4 separate regions of the Homo sapiens genome follow, and all the other regions are linked to region 2. Evidence: promoter capture Hi-C in 16 types of primary human blood cells and fetal thymus (Javierre and others, 2016). All regions are on one chromosome and are shown on one strand. Each heading gives the region's core, a stretch centred on a gene start or on the middle of the fragment in contact. The rest is flanking DNA. Distances are from core to core; before and after follow the strand shown. Region 1 has its middle 69 kb from the start of ARAP3. Region 2 holds the start of PCDH1 (protocadherin 1). Region 3 has its middle 90 kb from the start of PCDH1. Region 4 overlaps LOC124901094 (a long non-coding RNA gene).

Region 1 (2,769 bases), core at 194-2,693, 130 kb after region 2:
CATCTTAGCAGCACCTAGCTATTGAGCATGTGCTTATGCCAGGCCTTGTTCTTCACGGCATTATCTCACTGCATCATTACAGCCCTACAAGGTACACAGTTATTATTCCCATTTTATTTGTTAAATAGCATTTTATTATTACCGAAGTAATAAATATGAATTGTGCAAAATTTTAAAAGTACAGAAAGCAAAAATATAAAAATAAAAACATCATATTCCTACCACCATTAACACCTTAATGCATGTCCCTCCAGATCTTTTTCTTACATACAAGTATCTTTTTACCAAAATGTGATTGAATTATACATACTGCTTTATGATCTGTTTTTTAACCAACAATCTCTACCTTTTCTATTTCAGTAAATTTTCATCCCTTTTAATGCCCAGAACCTATAAAAATTTCCCCAAATGACCCCCAAGAAGTCCTTTACAGTTGGTCCGAATCCAATACAGGGATAGCATCTGATTGTTATGTGTATTAAATCGCTTAAAATGGTGCATTCCCCTGGTTTTTTTGGTCATTAATGCATTGAAATATTCAGATTAGTTTCCCCACAGAATATTCTTCCTTCCAACTGCCTGGTTACTTCCTTGTGCTGTTGTTGAGGTTGTGAAACTATCCCAGTGTTTTCTATAAACAGGGAGTTAGATCTAAAGGCTAGAACAATTCAAGTTCAACATTCTTGGCTAGAACACATGTGAGGCGATGTCATATACTTCACTTTGCACCGTATCAGAAGACGTAGAACATCAAATTCATCCACCATGAGAAATGCTCAGATAGACACCTGCTGATGATAGTTATGATTTCCTCCCCATCTTCCTTCTAGTAAATTATGTTTGTGGGTTACTCTGACACCACGCAAATGTCCGTTTCCCCATCAGCCATTCACCTAATGGTTATTAATACCAATACATAATCCTTGCCTGATTACTCTCATGTTTAAAGATGAAAAAACTGAGACTCAGACTGGGGAACATAGTCGTTCAAGCTCACACAATCAGCAAATTAGGACTCAGACTAGAAATCAAGTTTTCTTCCTCTTTCCCACCATACTGAGTTGGGAGCACGTTAGGTGTCTGGCGCACATTTAAATGTGTAAAAACCTTCGGGGGAGGGGGATTTCCTCTCCTTATGGTCTAGGCTGACCAGAGGTGGAAAAGCTTCTTGGTGAACCCCAATCTGCCTCCTGGTTGAGAGCTGATGCCACTAATATGGTTATCAGTGAAGCAACTCGACTCAGCAACTGCTATGTGGCAGCCCATGCTAAGTGCTTTATGAACATTAGCTTCTCGAATTCTCCCAAGAAACATGCAAGGTACGCATTATTACTAGGCTCTGACCCTTTTACAGATGAGAAAAATGAGGCTCAGAGAGGTTAAGTACTTGCCTAGGGCTGCACAGCTCATGATCAATGGAGCCAGGATTAGTTCTGACTCCAAAACTCAGGCACTTGACTGTCTCCTTGACCTGGCCTCTCAAGCTGGCCTCTCTCCCATTCCCAAGGCTGAAGAGTGAAGCTAATGAACGAGGCTTGGGGCCTCCTCCTTATGTGGCTGGTTCTGACATTGCCCACAGCTCTGTGACTATCTGTCAGCATCAGCAAGAGCATCACAGAGTTCTCTGGGTCCCCTCTGCTGGCCTCTACTCACCATATGGCTCTTGCCAGAATATGACTTGGTTCCTCCAGCCTCTGCATCCCATTAATCCTTCCAAGCTTTGCTCCCCCTGACCCCAGCCCTGGCCCTAATGCCTCCATCAGAGCATCTCACACTTGTTTATGAAACACTTTCCTTTGCTCACATTTATGTAGTTGGAATCCCAAGACTACCCTTGAAGGAGGCAGGGAAATGGGCTCCATTTGATAGATGCAGACACTGAGGCTTGGGGTGAGGAACGCTCTGGGCCCAGACCTGCTACGCTCCTGTCCCAGTCAGCATTTTCAAAATGGGCTCTAGCCCCTTAGCAAAGTCAGGACTAACCTCAGAGTTGGTGCCTTGCTGCTGTTTGGAATGTGAGGCTTGTCCTTGGGTGGGGCCTGTGGCAGTGGATTTGGGGTCAGCCCTGTATCCTCTAGCCCTGCCAGGGAGCAAGTCTCTGAAATGTCACCAGCACTGAGGGCATCCTGAGAAATGTCAGCAAATGCTGATTTGGTCCCTTGGCAGAGGGTGGAGCCAGCCTTTTTCTGCAGAGCCTCCCTCCACCATCTCCCTGTTCCCAGCTGCAGAAGAAAGAGAAGCCAAAGAACCCTTAGAGTTTGCCTAATCCAACCCCACCATCTTAGAGATGGGAGAACTGAGACCCCAGAACTCACAGAGCAAGCCAGCATCTATTTTCTTCTCTGGAAACATCAAGAATTAGTCATGGACCTCCACCCATCCACCCTATTCCCCATTCCCCACCACGGTCTATCTGGAGCCCCTTGAGTCAAGACCCCGGTTCCCAGAAGTCACAGGAGCAGAAAGAAGAAGGGACTAAGGAGCCAGCTCATGGCTGTGGGCCCAGCATTAGGGGCTGCAGGAAGGAGAACAGCTTGATCCAGCCACCATACCAGCCTCTGTCCTCCTCACCACAATACTAGACTGACACCTGGACCAGCTCTTCCTGAACCTCCAGAATGGAGAAAATAAAGTTCCTACCAAATGGTGGAGGCAGTGACACAGTAGCTTCCATGTGCTCTGGGAACTGACTGCCTTCTCCAGGCCCTGTGTGGCTAGTGCTTCTCCCATTTCACACCTCTGTTTGTGAGAGCCCTTTGCTCCATCATC
Region 2 (2,782 bases), core at 7-2,506:
GGAAGTAGAAGAAAGAGGAAAGGCACAGAAGAGTGGTAGGAACAGGAAAATGGGGAAGGACAGAGATGGGGAGTCAGAGGCTATGGCAAAAAGAGGCCCAACAACTGGTCATCCCATAACAAGAGCCTTTCCTCACCCAGCACTAGGCCTGGCTAGGGATAACCTTCCTCATTCTTTTGACCTAGAACACTCTGCCTGGGCCTGCAGGCGAAGAAGGCAGGAGGTCCTGTTGAACTGGGACACTTGGTAGCCTGGGTTACCAAACCGCAAGCGCAGGAGAGGGAGTTCCCAAGCTACTCAGAGACCTCTAGATGGCGCCAGAGAGCCAGAGCTGAATGGGAGAAACCGAGTATTGGAGTGTGTGAGACACTGCGTGTGACACCGTGTGTGATTTGGTGTGAGTGTGATAGGGAGCGTGTGGCACTGCGAGGGCGTGTGACACAGGCCGTGACACTGCGCGGCCTCGCGGGGCAGGGACCCGGTGACTGTATAATGTAAGTCACTGGCAAATACGTGTGGCCGCAGCACTACGCCGTGCAGAGGGCAGGTGATCAGGGGACCCTCGAATAGCCTAAGCTCAGGAGCAGCACTTCGTCTTCACGCTTGTGTATCTTCCCCATCCTCACTCTAGAGCCCCCGGGTCCCATTAGCCTCCTCCTCCCACGGTCCCCTCCATAGCCCCACCCCCACGGCTTGCTGCGGCCACCGAGGCTGACCGCTCTGCGGCTTCGGCCGGAGGGGGAGGGGTGGACTTTCCCCGAGCGCAGCGGGAAGGGAGGGCCACACAGGGCGATCGGGGATCTGGGCGGGAAGAGGGTGGATATGGAGGAGCAGGTGCCCAGGGAAGAAGGCGCTGTGGGAGACACTTCCCTTGCCTCGACTTCCCAGGGGGCAGACAGAGCTGGGGACAGGTGTTTGAGTAGGGTAAGGAGGGGAATCCAGGAGCGGTCCTAGATGGAGGCTTGGGTGGGATAAGTGTAAGGTGAAGCTCAGAGGAGGGCACGGCCTGTGTACTGGGCCTCGGGCAGTGAAGAGATGGCAGAGGGAGGGGTCCAGGCTTTGGGGAGCGGTGCTCGGGGTCCCCTCCCAGCCGGACCGGAGCGGTCCCGAGCTCCACCTCCCGGCCGGAGGGGGGGCGGGGAGGCGGGCGGGCCGGGAGGGAGGGGGGAGGGAGGGGGCGGGCCGGGCTGTGCGCTCCGCTCTCTGCTGGCTCCGCCGCCGCCGCCGCCGCCGCCGCCGCCGCCGCCGCCGCCTCACACACTCGGGGAGCGGGAGCGCGGCGCGGACGCAAAGCCGCCGGGCTGCTGCGCCCAGAGCCAGCCGGAGCCGGAGCCGGAGCCCGAACTGCAGCTCCAGCCCCAGCCGTGCGGAGCCGCAGCCCAGGCCGGGGCCGGCGGCGGCTCATGGACAGCGGGGCGGGCGGCCGGCGCTGCCCGGAGGCGGGTAAGGATCCGGCGGCGGTGGAGGCAGCAGCGGCTTGGGGCCCGAAGCGGTCATGGCCGGCGGGAGCTGAGGGAGGGGCGCTCGGCGGAGCGAGGCCGCGGGGGCCCAACACGAGCTCGGCGCGAGGGGGCTGAGGTGGGGGCTGCTGGGAGCCCATAGCAGGGGATGCGGCTGAGGGATTCCGTCCTCCCAGGTCCGCGGCGAGAAGCCGAGGGAGGGGAGGGGGTGCTGAGCAGAACCCTAGTCCCCGCGTCCCAAACCTGGGCGCGCTCGGAGAGACGGGGATAAGGAGACTCCAGGAGCGCGCGGCGTGGAGGATGGGTTTGGGGAAGCGCGCGGCCCCCAGTTTGGTGGGGGTCTCCCGGAGGACGGAGCAAGCAAGGACCGTTGTCCACAACACATACATACACACTTGTTGGGCAACTACCTCGGCTCACTCAGCCGCTTCCAGCTTCTCGCGGGCACCCAGAGGGCCAGACCGTGGACATATATACACACATACATACATCCCTGCATATGTGCACACAGACATACCTCCCGCACACCAGCGCCCACTGGGGCACCGTCGCCAGCTCAGAATCCGCTTCAGTGTCTGCACGATCAGCAGCACCGACACACAACCCGTGGCTTTACAGAGCAATAACACAACCGGGTGTGACACCCCGCGACGTGGACACACAAACACAATCTCGTGCCCTCATGTACGAGTGTCACAGCCACAGTTCACTAGATGAACCCTCAAAACCTAGCCACCCCCCACATTCCTTTAAGGAACACACCCTAGCATATATCATCTTACCCACTTCTTGGCCAGAACATAGGTACACAGCACAGGTCTCCTTGCACCCCTCTACTGCACCCACACAAACACACAACCCAGTATCTCAGCACACGCTTGATGGCACACACTCTAACACAGGAATTGGCACCTACAGCAGCGCCTCACGGTCACAAACACAGAATCCACTGCTTCACCCATCTTAACACTGGGTGTCACACACACCTTAAACCAACAGTGTCACATTACATTACACCCTGCAGCGCATACACACAAACACACACACTCCGTTCCTCTCTCTCGGAGTCCAGATTCAGGCAGGAGAAGCCGCCGGGGTCGTTCGGCGAGCCCCAAGCGCCCCGCCACGTTAATCGCGACATTATTATTGTAAATATCGGCACAGCGGGAAGGCTGGGCCGGCCTGCCGGCTTCCCAGTCGGCGCCTCCCCAACCCCCACTCCCGGGCCGAACCGGCTGGTGTTCCGGGAACAAGCTGGACCTGGCTGGCCAAGCCATCCCGCCTCCCCGGAGCTCTGGGGCCCCAGGTTCCTTTGTAGAGGG
Region 3 (2,759 bases), core at 130-2,629, 90 kb after region 2:
CCAGGCCTGGAGGGGAGAGCAAGCAGGGACCCCAGGACCTTGTGCAATGGGAGCTGAGGCCAGAGTGGAGGAGTTTGGCTTTTATCCTGAGGGCAGTGTGGAGCCACTGTAGGACACTGAGGAGAGCAGTGACATGGGTGTTCTTATAGAAACATCTGCCTGGTTTCAGTGCAGGGACTGGAAGGGAGAGGGGTGAGGGTGGGGAGTGAGGAGGTCAATGGGCCTGGGCTGCAGAGATGGAGAAAAATGGACATGTGCCTTCCAGGAGTGATTGTGGCCAGGGCTGGAATTCTGATGATTGCTGGCTGAAGAGTCTGGCTTGCGCACTCCACCCCTGGAGGGTGCCTGGAAGAGGCACATGGGTTGAGGGGAGGTTTGCACATCTGGACCCTGGGGTGGAGGCGTCTTGTGGCCCAGGTCCCTGTCTGGGAAGGGGCTTGAGGGAGCCTTGGGGAGCAGGAGGCAGGGTAAAGAGAAGGAGCCCAGGAATCCCCTGCAACTCTGGCTTGGCCCAGCTGAGCTCTCTATGCAGCTGGAGCCACAAGGATTCCAGGCTCAAGGGAGGCTGTAGCAGGATGTTTAATTCTCTAATCTCTGAATCCTCCTGAAATCCCTTTCAGCCTTGCACAGCCCTCTGGCGCATCTCCCGATGGTGGCTGGTGGGCACCTCCTTGTGCTTCTTGCACACATACCATGCCCCCTAACGCATACATCCATACACAGATGCACACACAGCATGTTTCAGGCTCTGATGAGCCCTGGTAGAAGGGAGGCAGGGAGTTAGAGCGCACCTAGGAGAAAAAGGAGGAGGTGGGAGAAGTAGGAGAGAGAAGGAGGGGAAGGAGGATCTTGGAGGCTCTCTGGTGGTGATAAGGTGGTGAAACTCCCAGCTCCAGTTTCCGTGGCTCAGGATGGGATTAACCTGTTAGGGTAGAGGGGAGAAGGGAAAGGTGTCACTGCACCAAGTGGCAGGGAGTGTGCTCTCCCTAGTGGAGCTTCAGTTGGGTATCAAACCTCCAGACCCCTTCTCTTCTAGCTCCCTTGGGGCAGATGGCTCTGTGTCGCCTCCCCAAAGCCACCTCTGCCCTTTCCCCTCCAGAGGATCTGCAGCAGGTCATGTGTGTATGCACGCACATGTGTATGAGAGTGTGTGTGTGTGTAAGCTTTAGGAGAGGGAAGTGTGGGGGTGTAGAGGGAAAGGAGAGGAAGCAAAGCCTAGCCTCCCCTTCTAACACAGACAGACAGGAGGGACTGTTCCCACACTTGGGGGAGGTAAGACAGATGGTTGGTAGCCTCCCTGAAGGTCTCTCTCTCTCTCCTCTCTGGGCCCCAATCCTCCCTCCAAACGGCAGCCCTATCACCCTCCTACCTAAAATCTTTCTGTAGTTCTTCAATGCCCTCAGAATAAAGTCCAAGCTCTCAAGCCAGCCTCTGTCAACCCTCCAGCCTCTGCTCTCGACACCAAAGCCTCCAGGCTTCTTCTCAGTCCTGTTCCTTCTGCTTAGAACATTCTCCATGTCCAGCCCCACACCTTATCCTTGTTTATATGGCTAATTCTTCCTCATCCTTTAGGTCTCAGAAACTAGAAAGCTTTCTCAGACTATACCTGCAAGCTAGATAACGTTTCTCCTTTGGGTAGGTACCCCAGGGCCACTGCTGGCACCCCCAACCCCTACTGTCATTGCCTGTGCTTCCTCCATCCTAGCCCTGATCACTTTGTGTTGTAACTCTCAGGGCAGGAACTTGCCTTGCTAGAATCCTTAATGCCTGGCATGGTGCCTAGGACTCATTAGATATTGGTGGAAGAAAACCCCAGGAATTACCCAATGGTAATCTTTCTTTTCTGCTAGTAGAAGCATAGAGAAAACTGAAACGAATCCCAATCCCCCTCACTTTTTTTTTTTTTTTTTTTTTAAAGAGAGAGTCTCACTATGTTGCCCAGGCTTGCCTTGAACTCCTAGACTCAAGCGACCCTCCTGCCTCTGCCTCCCAAATAGCTAGGACTACAGGCATGTGCCCCCACGCCTGGAAGAATTCTCTATTTTTGAGGCCCAGACAGTGGAAGGGACTTGGCCAAGGTCATACAGAGGGAGTATCTGAACCAGGAAAAGAACCCAGGAGTCCTAACCCCAGACCCTTGTCCTCCCATGGTGGAGGGGAGGCAGATGGCAGGAGGTGTAGAGGGGTTGCAGTGGGGAGAGGTTCAGTGGGAGGATCCCGCAACAGCAGGGCCAGTGATGTGTGTGCAGACATGCGTGTGCTGTGATTCATGGCTGGGCACCCTCCTCAGGCCCATGTTCTTGGCTGGCCCACAGTGAAAAGGCCCAGCTCCCTGGAGGAGCCCACCTAGAACTGGATGGTGGGGGTGTTGGGGAGCAGAGCTGGCCAGGCCCTGGGATTGGGGGTTGTTGACGTCATCTCAAACCCCTGTGGAAGCTGACAGTGAAGACCCGGGGGGCAAGGCAGGCACTGGGGATGCAATCACAGGCTAATAGCCTCCCAGCCTGAGATGCAATTAGGGGCAGATTCCCAGTGGGCCTGGAGGCAGTGGGAAGGGCAGTTTGTTGTTTGGAGGTGGGAGTGGGGCCTACATCTGCAATCCTGCACTCAGGTTCAGAGGAGCCAGAATGGGAGCATGGGTGGGGTAAGGAGACCCCCCCAAAAGAAGTAACGGTTGCAGACATGGGTGAGGCAGAGGGGTACTTGGAGGTAAAGCATCATCATGGAAGATTAATAATTGGGAAAGTTACTTCCCCCAG
Region 4 (2,717 bases), core at 1-2,500, 110 kb after region 2:
AACCCCTTCTCCAACAACAATTTTACCTCCTAACTGCAATTGATGCCAATCACTTGCCCTGGCACTACATCTAGCCCCTGGCTTGGCCCTGTGGCACCTAGACAAGGCTGATTGAGGGTTAGAGGACTGCCATCTTGAGCCAAGCCACCAAGCCATGGGAACTTCAGGGTGGTGCCCCCCACTTTTTGAGTGCTCAAGGTCCCGGCTCTAAGTCTAGGAGTCTGGGCTCTTCCTGCTATGTTCAGCTCCCAGCCACCGGCCCCAGTGACACCAGCCGCTGGGCCTGAGCTAAGAAGCCATGCTTCTCCTGAAGAATGGCAAGAAATTAGCACTTGGCTGGGCCGCCCCATCATTGCTGTTCCTCACACCTTGCTGGGTAATTTCTACAAGACCAAAGCCTGAGCCTAATGGGCCGCCTGCTTCCAGCCCGGTGGACAACATCAGGGAAAGCAGCCCCCAGGGTTTCTCACAGACTAAGGGGCTCTGTGCTCTGCTGAAAGGATGGTGCTTACAGTTGTCAGGAGAGAAGGACACTCTGAAAGCTTGGGATCCTACAGCTGTTGGGTGAGAATGAGCAAGTTAAGAGTGCTCTGCTGAGCCTAAAAAGCAGGAAAACGTTCTCTGCGGCAATGGGAAAAGGAGTCATCTCTGTTAGTGACTTGAGTGCCAAAGAGCCATGTCTGTGCTCGGCACACGCCGAGTGGTGAAGCCTCCAGCGTGTACAGCCATCCAAGCAGCCCCACCGAGAACAGCTCTGTGTACCATGCCCCATTCCTGGGCCCACCACCGTCCACCCTCGAGCCACCCGGTGACGAACACCAGCCATCACCACCGCATGGGCTGGCACCCCACCAGTCCGCTGTCATCACCCACCCCTCTTCCTGGGGTCGGTCTGTCTGCTTAGATGGGGAGCTGGATGGCTGGCCTGGCCGCCAACTCTGCGTTCCCTGCCGGGCCCAGTGCACCATGATTGCTCACCAAAAGCTAACTAAATGGTCTGAACTTTCTCCAGCTTTCTTTCCCAGCAATTTCCACTTCCTGGGAGGGAGGAATGGTGACTTCCGCTCCATCCTACAAGGAAGGCAAGATGGTCTGGTGGCTAAGAGGCATAGCTCTAAAAACAAGCAAACATGTCTGACCACTAACCGTACCTCCAGCCCTATCATTTGCTAGCTGGATGGGCCTTGGGCAAGACATCTTGACTTCTCTGAACTTCAGTTTTCTGTTCTGTAAAGTGAAGATAATTATGGTACCTGTCTCAAAGAGCTGCTTTAAGAATTCAGTGAGGTAGCACACAGTAAGTGTGTGTGTGTGTGTGAGTGCTGAGCATAGTGGCTGACACACAGTAGGTCCTCAGTAAACATTAACTTAGGATCATGATGTGGCTACAGACATTGGTAGCCTAACTTCAAGACAGGGTCCCAAGAGGGGGTCAGTTTGGTCATTGTCCTGGAGAAGGCCCTAAACTTGATGTGTTTACGGTCTTGTCGGAAGCACCCACTTTGCTTTCTCTTCATCCTACCAGACATTCTCCTTTCCCCGTACCACCCTGGGCCAGGGAACCCAGTCATTCCTTCATTCACCCATTCACACATTCACTCATTCACTTCATTCACTCATTCAATATCCAACAAATATTTACAGATTGATTATTCTAATCCAGGCCCTGTGCTATGGGCTGGGGGATAAGTAAACAGGTCAAGGTGCCTACTTTCATGATACCCATGGCCTAAAGTGAAGGGGGCTGGGTGCTTTATCAGTGCTAGGGTGAGGGGCACACAGGAGGACACCCTGGTCTCAGGAATGGCTTCCTGGAGATGGGCTTGTATAAGCTAACATCTGGAGGACAAATAGGAGTTAGCTGGGCAAAGGTAGCCAGGCAAAAGGGAGAAAGAGTGTCTCAGGCAGAGGAAAACAGCCCCGGCAAAGGCCTGGGTGGGAGAAGACATGCAAGCTTTGTGTGACGAGTGTCCTGAGTCGAAGTGGAGCCATAAGCAATGATGCACCATGCAGGCTAGAGTTTGTTATCCTTCCTGGGAGCTCTCCCTGCTGGGATGGTCCTGCTGATACTTTTCCTTCTCTCCACACGCAGCCTCCACAAGGAGACCTGTCCTGAGCCCCTGCCTGGTTGTTGGGGAAAGGAAGGAGAGAGGGTGAGACCCAGGAGAGGAATTTGCACCCTGGGAGGGCCTGAGATGGAAAGAAACCAGGAAGAGTGATTCCTCAGCTGGAGATAATGTCTACAGTAACCAGTCCACTGAGGCATGAACTCCATTTTCTCACTCAATCTTCATAACAGCATTACAAGGAGATACTCTTATTAGTTCCGTTTTGCAAATGATGAGACTAACACATTGAGAGTTTCAGTAACATGCTTCACACCTACAGAATGTGGCCCTGGTGTCAGTCCCCAGAGCCTGTGCTCTTAACCCCCAGGCCACCCTGGATATGGGGCAGCACAGGGGTGGGGGTGGGGACCAGGGACAGGAAGGCAGTGGAGGGAATGGTTCTTGGGGTAGCTCCCCTTGGCCTCTTGACCAGCCAGTCTCCTTGAGACAGACCAGGGAGCAAGTGCCTGCCAGAGCCTGACAGGACAAAGTTCCCCATTCAGAGTTCTGATGATCTCTCCCAGCTGCTCAGCTCCTTGCAAAGCATTTTCCCTTAATAGCCTCCTATTCAACAGAACGGCTGCAGCCCACATCTGTGGAAACCAGGCC

The links. Contacts are between HindIII fragments. The CHiCAGO score rates a contact against its expected background, and 5 or more counts as called.
Region 1: a fragment that was not itself captured here is called in contact with the fragment with the promoter of PCDH1 in region 2 in 4 of 17 cell types (endothelial precursors, M2 macrophages, M1 macrophages and 1 more); the score reaches 13.6 in endothelial precursors.
Region 3: a fragment that was not itself captured here is called in contact with the fragment with the promoter of PCDH1 in region 2 in 1 of 17 cell types (endothelial precursors); the score reaches 5.6 in endothelial precursors.
Region 4: a fragment that was not itself captured here is called in contact with the fragment with the promoter of PCDH1 in region 2 in 1 of 17 cell types (endothelial precursors); the score reaches 7.2 in endothelial precursors.

What each region holds. Positions count from the first base shown.
Region 1 is chr5:141,749,589-141,752,357 of GRCh38, reverse strand. No RefSeq gene overlaps it. Among named protein-coding and RNA genes, the nearest start is that of ARAP3, 69 kb to the right of the region's middle. The HindIII fragment of the contact is 554 bases long and covers 1,167-1,720 here.
Region 2 is chr5:141,876,884-141,879,665 of GRCh38, reverse strand. PCDH1 (protocadherin 1) reads left to right here and starts at 1,256. Exons shown (of 5, transcript NM_032420.5): 1 at 1,256-1,443. The coding sequence starts at 1,404. RefSeq lists enhancers at 1,258-2,007, 2,274-2,782. The HindIII fragment of the contact is 20,024 bases long and covers 1-2,782 here.
Region 3 is chr5:141,786,592-141,789,350 of GRCh38, reverse strand. No RefSeq gene overlaps it. Among named protein-coding and RNA genes, the nearest start is that of PCDH1, 90 kb to the left of the region's middle. RefSeq lists enhancers at 1,849-2,349, 2,350-2,759. The HindIII fragment of the contact is 427 bases long and covers 1,166-1,592 here.
Region 4 is chr5:141,766,007-141,768,723 of GRCh38, reverse strand. LOC124901094 (a long non-coding RNA gene) reads left to right here. Exons shown (of 2, transcript XR_007058975.1): 2 at 1-2,717. Among named protein-coding and RNA genes, the nearest start is that of ARAP3, 85 kb to the right of the region's middle. The HindIII fragment of the contact is 1,412 bases long and covers 545-1,956 here.